Regions from separate parts of the Homo sapiens genome. Here region 1 is linked to region 2. The links are contacts of gene promoters, found by promoter capture Hi-C in human tissues and cell types (Jung and others, 2019). All regions are on one chromosome and are shown on one strand. The core of a region is centred on a gene start or on the middle of the fragment in contact, and the rest is flanking DNA. Distances in the headings are between cores, read along the strand shown.

Region 1 (5,194 bases), core at 1,712-4,211, 430 kb before region 2:
TAATTTAAATAATCAGAAAAGATATAATAAAAATTAATTAGTTAGAAAAATTTAAAAATGCTAAAGCAACTAAAATTAGTATAAAAACAGGATAAAACAAGTAAAATGGAATCTTGATAAAGCCCTAAGAAGAATGGAGGTAAGAAAGCAGTATAAATAATCATAAGGAGGCAAAATAAACTAAGAACAATGAAAATAGAGTAAAAGGCCAGGCGTGGTGGCTCACACCTGTAATCCCAGCACTTTGGGAGGCTGAGGTGGGAAGATTGCTTGAGCCCAGGAGTTCGAGACCAGCCTGGGCAATGAGGCAAAACCCCATCTCTGCAAAAAATTTAAAAAATTAGCTCTGTGTGGAGGCATGCACGTGTAGTTCCAGCTACTTGGAAGGCTGAGGTGGGAGGATCACTTGATCCCAGGAGGTTGAGAATTCATGCCACTGCACTCCAGCCTGAGTGCCAGAGCAAGACCGTGTCTAAAAAAAAAAAAAAAAAAAAAAAAAATACAGTAGAAAAGTTAACACAAAAAGAATAAAAGAGTCAAAGAATAAATCTAGCTAAAATGATACAAAAGTGGGTACAGGTTTAGGTTTATAAAAATCAAATCAGTTAAAGAGAATGTGTACTGAGCAATATTAGGAATTCTATGTTTTAGCCCATCACATGAAAACAATTTTGGCCTAACTGGCTAAACCAGGCCTTGCAGAACTCTATGGAAAGAACTCTAGGGCAGAGGACCCTCAGTGCTCTGAGGTAAAAAATGGAAAGCAGCTTAAACCCATTAAGAAAAACTGTTTTTTAGGCCTATTTAGGTCACAGGTCATGGTGCAGTAGATGATTCCTTAGAATAATTATCTAGTCCAATCTTCTTCCTATAGATCTGTGAAATAAGGCCTACATTGATGAAAAAGGTGCAATTTCAGTGATGGGAGTAGAGAGAGGTGGAGCCACAGGAAAGTGTTCTTGGCAGCACATGCTGATTGGGAGACCTACACATTTAAAGTTTTATCAGCACCTTCTTGAGTAATCCTTTTTTTTTTTTTTTGTACTCAAAGTTTGGAATTGACACAGGTGTGTTTGATGTGTCCTAGGTGGGCATTTACCTCCCTGGGAACTTACTCCCTAGGCTGTCTGGGTATATCCAGTTGCTCAACGGAGAAGTACCTGAGAACAGTGATTTCTCACAAAGACACATGCAGCTCTGCTGGCCTGGGGTGAATTAAGGTTGAGGCATAGGTGGAAAGTGGGGGAGGGTAGTCTTGTAGAGCCTTGCCTGGATTTGATGGGGCAGCTGGAGAAGGCCCATGAAGGGGGAAAAAGGAACAGAGTGGGCAACAATCCTGGCTGCCCCAGCTTCACTCAGCCTCCCAGGTGGTGCCTGGGGATCTCTGCAAGGCTGCCTCTGGGAAGAGAGCTGCAAACACAAAGCTTGTGCAGGTAGGTCAAGGCATCTACCGTAAGACTCAAAAGGCTTGCAGGCCTCTTCAATTGTGACAGTTTTGGGGCAAGGGACTGTGTTAGTTTTCTATTAGCTGCAGTAACCACTTATCGCAGATTTATTATCCTGTAGTTCTGGAGGTCAAATATCTGAAATGCGTCTTACAAGGGCTAAAATCAAGATATCAGCCGGGTGCATTCCTTCTGGAGATTCTAGGGGAGAATATATTTCTTGCCTTTTTTAGCTTCTAGAGACCACTTACATTCCTTGGCTCATGACTTCCTTCTCCACCTTCAAGTCCAGCCATACAGCATCTTCAAATCTCCCCCCTGACCCCATCCCCTCTTACCTTTGCTTCTCTTTGACTCTCCTGTATCACTCTAATAAGGACCTTTGTGATTATATTGGGCCTGTTTGGATTATACGGGATACTGTCCCCATGTGAAAATCCTTAACTTTATTGTAGCTGCAAAGTCCTTTCGGCCATGTAAGACAACACATTCACAGATTCAGGGGATAAGGATGTGGATATCCTTGAGGGACATTACTCAGCTTACCACAAGAGCTGTTCATTCCCTGTTACTTCAGCAGATTTGTCCTTGTAGGAGAGCCCACACTGAAGAAGTTCTTCAGCTCCTGGTAGGAGCTGGAGGCAGGCACTGGCTTGTGGTTTCATTAAAAATAATGAGTGATTGAGCCAGCTGCTTTAGGACTAGCTTGTAACTCCACTTCCTCTTGGAAGTTTCAGCAGCTTAAGCCCCTAACTGCTTAGGCAGGAAAGAGCTGAGGGTTGGCCAAAAATGTTACAGTACTAGACATGAGCAAATTCATTGAGCAAATTTATACTCAGTACTTGGTGGGTAGTGAATATTGTGCAGGACAGTAGAGACTCATTGGTGAATAAGATTGGTTGCTTTCAGATATTAATTTTATTTATGTGCTATCTCCCCTTTTGTAGTAGAATCTAAGCTACATTAGAGAACATATTTTGTCTTAATCACTACTAAGTCCTGATGGCTGCTTTTCACGGATTTTGATGGTAAATTCTCAGTAAATTTTTGCTGGTTTAGTAAAAGATATGATCTCTGACCTCAGTGAGCTTATAATTTAATACATTGGACTAGAAGTTGGCTAATTACGGCCCTTGGGCCAAATCTGCCCCACTGCTTGTTTTTGCAAATAAAGTTTTATTGGAACTCTGATGTGCCCATTCATTTACATATTGTCTTTGGCTGTTTTGTCGTATAATGGTAGAGTTGAGTGGCTGTGCCAGACTGTATTGGTCACAATTTGGGGTTAAATATTTACTGTCTGGCCCTTTACAGAAAAAGTTTACTATCACCTGGGCTGACAATGGTAGCCAAAAATGGCAACAAAAAATGGTAGCTACATTGAGCATAATAAGATCCACGATAGGATGCCTTAGGAGCTCATGAGACAGACAACACTTTCATTATTCTTGGAGCTTCCCATGCTCCTAAGTTCACACATTTAGAGAGACCCTTTAGCGCATCAATCATCTGACCACAGTGGTTGTCATGGAGAGCCCATTGTTCCAGCCTTCATATCCTTTTGGTTCCTGCAGGTTTGTGGCTTTGTAGTCACCTATGAGACTCTTTGTTGAAGTGGGAACTCTAGTGTCTAGGATCTAGATTCTCTGGGTGGACCATTCCGCCTTTTATTCTGAGGCTTCTCTACCTTTCTACTGCACTGTTCGAGGTGTAGCGTTTAGATTCCTACTGTGCATACATTTTTCTATTTCACCCCCAATGCCCTACAATTGTTTCCTATGACCTCATCAGTTCTGTCTCCTCATCTTCCAGGTGATCTAATGTAATCTAAGTACTGTCTACTCTTCAAAAGATGTAGACATTTATAAAAGACCCCAGTTTCTAATTTTCTCCCATCAGAATCTCTAGGGCAAAGAACTGCAAGTCTTGGTTACCAGTTTGGAAGCAGCATTAGATGGTAAAGGAGATAACAAACAAAAATGGTATTTTAGGAAATTATCTCTCCTGCTTTGCATTGAATTATATCCTGAAGGCAACACATTTTAAATAAGAGAGTGGTTTTAAGGAAGAGAGTGGCAAGATCAACTCCCAGGATAACATTTAATATTTAGCAGGTGGTATGTATTTTAACCACACAGACTTAAACAATTGTGTGGCAATATGGGTACTTACTGGCTATGGATCAGTAGGATTTGCATTTTGGAAGTTGATCTGGCTGTCAAGGGCAGAATGGATGGGAGGCATTCCCATAAGATTAGAGGGAGGCTAGGGAGGAGGGTATTATACTAGTCTAGGGAAGAGATAGTAGGATCTCTACTTGGAAAATGACTGTGGGAATGGAGTAGGGTACGCAGAATCTAGTACCATTGTATATATGAAACCAAAGGGATTTGGTGAGTGGATATCTAGAGTGGGGAACTGGAAGAAGTGTGGATTGCTCATAGGTTACTGACTTCAGCAATGGGATGGATAGTGGAACTCTTAGGAGACAGGATGAAGAAGTAAGTGTCGAGTATGTTAGGAAGATGTAAAATTAACTTTGGTTGGGGGATTGGACCTTCTGCTTTACCTCTGGAATCTTCCCTTTCATTGCTTAGTGATATGGTTTGGATATGTGTCCCCACTCAAATCTCATGTTCAATTGTAATCCCCAATGTTGGAGGTGGGGCCTGGTGGGAAGTGATTTGATTATGGGGGCAGATTTCTTCCTTGGTACTGTCGTTTTAATAGTGAGTGAGTTCTTGTGAGATATGGTTGTTTAAAAGTGTGTAACAACTCCTTTTTCTTTCTCTTCCTCCTGCTCCAGCCATGTGAAGTGCTCACTCCCCCTTTGCCTTCTGCCATGATTGTGTGTTTCCTGAGGCCTCCCCAGAAGCTGAGAAGATGCTTCCTGTACAGCCTGCAGAACTGTGAGCCAACTAAACCTCTTCTCTTTATAAATTACCCAGTCTCTGATATTTCTTTATAGCAGTGTAACAATTGACTAATACAGAAAATTGGTGCTAAGGAGTGGGGCATTTCTATAAAGATACCTGAAAATGTGCAAGCAGCTTTGGAACTCGGTAATAGGCAGAAGCTGAAACAGTTTGGAGGGCTCAGAAGAAGACAGGAAGATGAGGGAAAGTGTGGAACTACCTAGAGACTTGTTGAATGGTTGTGACCAAAATGCTGATAGTGATGTGGACAATGAAGTCCATCTAGGCTGAGGAGATCTCAGATGGAAATGAGGAACTTACTGAGAACTAGAGTAAAGCTCACTTTTGCTGTACTTTAGCAAAGAGCCTGGCTATATTGTGCCCTTGCTCTAGGGATCAGTGGAACTTTGAACTTGAGAGAGATGATTTAGGGTAACTGGTGGAAGAAATTTTTAAGGAGCAAAGGTGTTTAAGATATGGGTTGGCTGCTTCTAGCAACCTTTCCTCATATGTGTAAGCAAAGATATGGTCTGAAACTGGAACTTGTATTTAAAAGGGAGGAAGAGCATAAAAGTTTGAAAAATTTGCAGCCTGGCCATGTGGTAGAAAAGAAGAGCCCATTTTTAGGGGAGGAATTCAAACAGGCTGCAGAAATTTGCATAAGTAAAGAGGAGCCAAATGCTAATAGCCAAGACAACTGGGAAAAAGTCTTGAAGGCATTTCAGAGACCTTCTTCGCAGCCCCTCCCATCACACGCCCAGAGGCCTCTGAGGGAAGAATGGTTTTGTAGGCCAGACCCAAGACTTACTGCAATGCACAGCCTCAGAACCCTGC
Region 2 (5,376 bases), core at 570-3,069:
TGATGCTGTGCCTTATAATCAACAAAATGTTGAAAGCAAGGAATACTTTCCTAAGAGGCATAAAGGTTTCTTCATATCCCAGGTATTAACCAATCTGCTCCCTACCACTTCAAAATTCAAGACTAATTGGAGTCATGCAGATAATACTGTTACTACACAAAGTTTAATTAAAACCATCAGTACTCATTAACTCTTTTGTTATAGGTTTCTAGTATGTACCTTTAGAAAGTTATTGATGATAATGTTTTGAACCATTCTTAACCTGACTTATACAAGGGGATTACATGTTTTATAGATTGAATATTAACCATTAGGTAGTGTAAATATTAAACTATAAAGGAGTCAAGTTTCTGAAAGCTAAAAAAGTTCTGATTTTCTGCTGAGATCACAACAAAAACCTCATATATAATTGGAATACTTCATGATACAAATAATTAAAAGCCCAGGTTAAGGTAAATATATTAAAGACCAAGATTTGCAGTAACATTTATCATATCAAATCTCCAAATCTAGTGGAGGAATTTAAACAGAGGACACAGACAGCTCTTGGGAGAGTCTTCATATTTTTATTGGTAACTAAAAGCATACTTTAGCTATCTAATTAAACCTTTCTTTGGTCTAATTCAAATTCATGAAGCAAAGATTTATTCAGTTATCCAGATGTGAAAAGCAAAATTAGAGCGTTTTTTGTTTTATTGTTTGGCTGGAAATGTTTCTGTCTTTGGGCATTATGGATAATTTTAGTTTTCTCCTTTCTAAAAATTATTTTTTTTATTTTCTACAATGGCTATAATGTATTGGGTATATGGACTAGAGCTTTGCTTCTGTCTTCAAGGAAATGTCATTTGAACAGCTGACAGACTCCTGTAGCCGGTTACATAGAGATTCCCTAAAATAGGCAAGATGATGGCTGAGTACAAAATGAGTACTAGGGAGGCTACGTTCTACAGGAGTTGACGTGGAGAGGCAGAAAAGCTTCACAGAGTAGAGAAAACTCATACTAGATCTTGTAGAATACACAAGCTTTGTAGAGGTGGGGATGGAGAAGGCCACTGAAGAAGGAGGAGAAGCATGAACAAAATTAGAAATTGCACTAGAGGTACTTTGGAACAATTGACAGAGTCTAAAGAGAGCAGAAACAGGAATTTATAACTGGATTGTTACCTTCCTTCTCTAATTTGTCCTGGTCCTAATTCTAACTTAGCCTGTGGGTACAGTGATAGTAACCTGGTGAAAATAAGAGAAAGACAAGATAAAGTTGAAGGCTATAAATAATTTATTAATTAATGGCAAATTGATTTTTCTAGGTCCTAGAATAAAGAAAGAAAAGCTATGATGTTCCAGAGTGCTCTGCTGTAAGCACAGATAATAGCCAATGGGGTACATATTATTACCTTTCATTTTACAGATCAAGACAAAGAGAGTCAGGAAGTTTAAGACTTAAGTCTTTAAAGACCTTGTAAGGTCTTATTATCCCTGTGTTCCAGGTGAAGTTCAGAAATGTTAAATGATTTATGAAATGTTTCATGGCTTTCTCGTGGTTGAGCCAGGACTCGAGCAAAGGTCTCTGAATTCCTAGTCCTTTGCTTCTTTCTCTCCACATCCACTGCCTCAGACAATTGCAGGCACACAGCCTTCACTCTCCCTTCTTCAAGAGGAAGACACTGCTGAGGATTGTGTTTGCATTTTACAGATTCCATCTCACGAATTAAAAATGCTGAGGTGGTAAATTGTTATCAATTCTATGTTTCCCAGAAATGTTTAACCTTAAGTTAAAAAAAATCTAAGAGATAAAACAGCATGTTATCTGGCCAGTCCATTCCACCCCCAGTGGTTATTAATTTCAGAACACATCTGAATTCCTTCTCTGTGGCATATGCTTTAGGAGAGGAGCAGACAGCTCTTAGCTAGGGTCAGATTTCAAATTCTCATCTCTTGGTGCCAATACCACCACCAGATTCTTCTTTGAAGTCAACTTTTGAGATCTTCACTAAGTACACGTTGGTGTCTGAAGATTCACACGAGTGCCTCTGGTAATCATTTTCTTCAGGGAATCACAGTCTCTCCTCTCAGCAAAGCATCCACTGTACTGAACTTTGCTTTTGGAAACATCTTCTTCCTGAGACCTCGTTGAAAGAAACTCTCTGGTGTCATACTTTCCAATATGGAGGTGAAGAACTTTGCAGTTTGGGATTATGTTGTATTTGCAGCCCTCTTTTTCATTTCCTCTGGAATTGGGGTGTTCTTTGCCATTAAGGAGAGAAAAAAGGCAACTTCCCGAGAGTTCCTGGTTGGGGGAAGGCAAATGAGCTTTGGCCCTGTCGGCTTGTCTCTGACAGCCAGCTTCATGTCAGCTGTCACGGTCCTGGGGACCCCTTCTGAAGTCTACCGCTTTGGGGCATCCTTCCTAGTCTTCTTCATTGCTTACCTATTTGTCATCCTCTTAACATCAGAGCTCTTTCTCCCTGTGTTCTACAGATCTGGTATCACCAGCACTTATGAGGTAAGATGATTTCTCCATTCTTCTCTAATTTTTTTTTCTCATCCTCTTGATGATAGCACCTGGTAGTTGAAGAACACTCACTGATTTTCAGGATAATTACACATTATGAGAAAGACATTAAAATGTTTTTGTAAAAAGCCTAAGCTTTGGAGACAGACATATCTATTTTCCCATCTGTAGAAGGAAAATAATGATGACAATCCCACAGGGCTATTTTAATGATCAAATGAGAACCTCTATGTGAGCACTTAATGTATGGCCTCATTTGTAGGAGGTTTGCAATAAAGAGGGCTGATGTTATTTTTTATTATTGTGAACGTCATCATTCTGAAAAGCAAACAGAACATTTCTCATGAGTACGGCAATTTTCCAGCTAAGAAAACTGAGATACAGATAAATGACTTAGTTAAGATTTTTGAATAGTAAAGTGACCTGAGAACCTAATTTTTTCTGTATCTCTACTTAGTGGCCTTTCCGTCAGAGAGTAGAGGGCATTTTAATACAAATTATAATAAGACTAATTTTTAATGAGGAAATGGAAACATTTTTGAAAAGTACAAAACATTTTAACGAAAGGAATTGCTAAATAATACAAATATGGGAATTATTTAATGTGAGGGAAATGAGGCAGTGGTGTTTTGGCTTTACAATGATTCTCAATGAAGACATCATGTTCAAAATTGAATTTGCATGCTCTATATAGAAATGTGATCAAACATAAGTTTCTATTAATAAGGTATTTATTTTCATTATCCAATATCATTCCTAAAGTCACTGCAGGAGACTGAAAAGAGACCTATTTTTTTTTAAATATGTAAGCTATATGAGTATAAAACATTATTCTAGCCTTCAAAAGTCACTCAGGCAAATGAACACTTTTTAGGAAGTCTTAAAAAGTGTTATTGATTCCATAGTTTTATGTAATGTAATTTTTATGACTATTCACTCAGTAAATACTCATTAAGCATCTACTCTTAAGATACTTAAAAAGGCACTCTTCTTTTTTTCCATGTATTTATTTACTTATTTATTTATTTATTTATTTATTTATGAGATGGGGCTTTTGCTATGTTTCCCAGGCCGTTCTCAAACTCCTGGGCTCAAGTGATTCTCCTGAATCAACCTCCCAAGTAGCTGGGACTACAGAAGTTTGCCACCACACCCAGCTTGTTCTAGGCATTCTCGTAGCCCTAGGCATAAAGCATTGCACCAAGTTCCTGCTGTCATGGAGCTTACTTCATAGCAGAGAAGGGCAGTCAATAAACATATACTGTGTAAGAAAATCATAATACAAATATATATGGTATTTAACTATGTGCTAAGTACTTCTCTAAGTTCCTTATGTGTGTTAAGTCTTTTGGCCTTAAAACAATCTTTTTTAGACAGGTACTGTCACCTCCTTTTAACAGACTAGAAAACTGAGGCATATAGAATTAAGTAACTTGCTAAGTGACATAAAGCTAGCAAGTAACAGTTTTTCAAACCAGGCAGTCTAACTTTAGATATCATATGCTAAATAACTATGCTGTCCTGTCCTACAAAAACAAATGGAGAAAAAGTAAAGTAAATAGGATGAGATAGAGAGGAGGAATGCTGGTATGAGTAGAGAATGTCCATATTCATAGAGGGTGATCATATGAAACTTCAAGTAAAATAAGACGTCTAAATGGAGACTGGAAGAAAGCAAATAATTGCACCAGACAAGGGAAGTGCATCTCAGGCTGAAGTAGTCACAGATGCAAAGGCCCTAGAAAAGGAGTGTGACTGGCATGTTGAAGGACAGCAAAGAAATCAGTGTGCTTGGAGAGGAGAGAGCAAAGGGGACAATGGTAAAAGATAAGATCAAAGAGATGGGAGTGCCCAGTTATATACAGCAGGGGTCTCAGTGGAGCTAGTGCCACACAGAGGGAGCACTTGGGATATTTGTAGGATATTTGGTTGTCACAATGATTAGGAGTCACTACTGATGTTTAGGGAGTTGAGGGCAGAGACATCAGATGTCTTTCAGTGTGTAAAGGCACATATACAATGAGTAATTTCACTCTGCACTGCATGATATTTTAATGCCGTAATGCTCAAAAACTACTGCACATATTAGTATTACCTTAGTGCACAGTAACTTTACAATAAAAAGTTATACACACACTATAAATTAGCACATTTTCCAGAAATTAAATGAAATAAAAACACTGTCTTAAAATTATTGAACAATTTACTTACTTTGAACAATCTGTCTATTCCATATGTGCTGCTCATTACATGCTTAGCCATAACTGGTTTTAGTAAAATGGCCTAGTTACTGCAAAAACAACTAAACCAATTGCAATTATGTAACTGAGGAGATTTGATTCTCTTTTTAAATTAATAAATTAGTACAAGTATTGAAAATATAAGGACTTCATTGAATTTAATTTACTAAATTGTTTTTAAAATATTTACTATTTTTGCCTCTACATATTTTCAACTTTTTAGTGACCTAATAGTAAGTAATCCAGAGTGTGTAAAGTAGATATAAGGTTATTTTGGGATTACCTCTTGCTTTATAAAAATTGGCATTATGGCATGCAAGTTAAAAGTATGGACTCTAGGCCAGGCGTGGTGGCTCACGTCTGTAATCCCAGCATTTTGGGAGGCTGAGTTGGGTGGATCACCTGAGGTCAGGAGTTCGAGACCAGCCTGGCCAACATGGAGAAACTCCATCTCTACTAAACAACACACACACACACACACACACACACACACACACACACACACAAAATTAGCCAGGCATGGTGGCGCACATGTAATCCCAGCTACTCGAGAGGCTGAGGCACGAGAATCACTTGAACCTGGGAGGTTGCAGTGAACTGCCGAGATCCACTGCACTCCAACCT

The links. Contacts are between HindIII fragments. The study calls those that stand out against the background at their distance.
Region 1: a contact is called between a fragment that was not itself captured here and the fragment with the promoter of SLC5A12 in region 2, in 2 of the 25 tissues and cell types used here (H1 embryonic stem cells and mesenchymal stem cells).

What each region holds. Positions count from the first base shown.
Region 1 is chr11:27,150,210-27,155,403 of GRCh38, reverse strand. BBOX1-AS1 (BBOX1 antisense RNA 1) reads left to right here. Exons shown (of 4, transcript NR_125768.1): 3 at 4,252-4,354. Among named protein-coding and RNA genes, the nearest start is that of BBOX1-AS1, 66 kb to the left of the region's middle. The HindIII fragment of the contact is 4,760 bases long and covers 582-5,194 here.
Region 2 is chr11:26,718,503-26,723,878 of GRCh38, reverse strand. SLC5A12 (solute carrier family 5 member 12) reads left to right here and starts at 1,819. Exons shown (of 15, transcript NM_178498.4): 1 at 1,819-2,503. The coding sequence starts at 2,165. The HindIII fragment of the contact is 6,083 bases long and covers 1-1,835 here.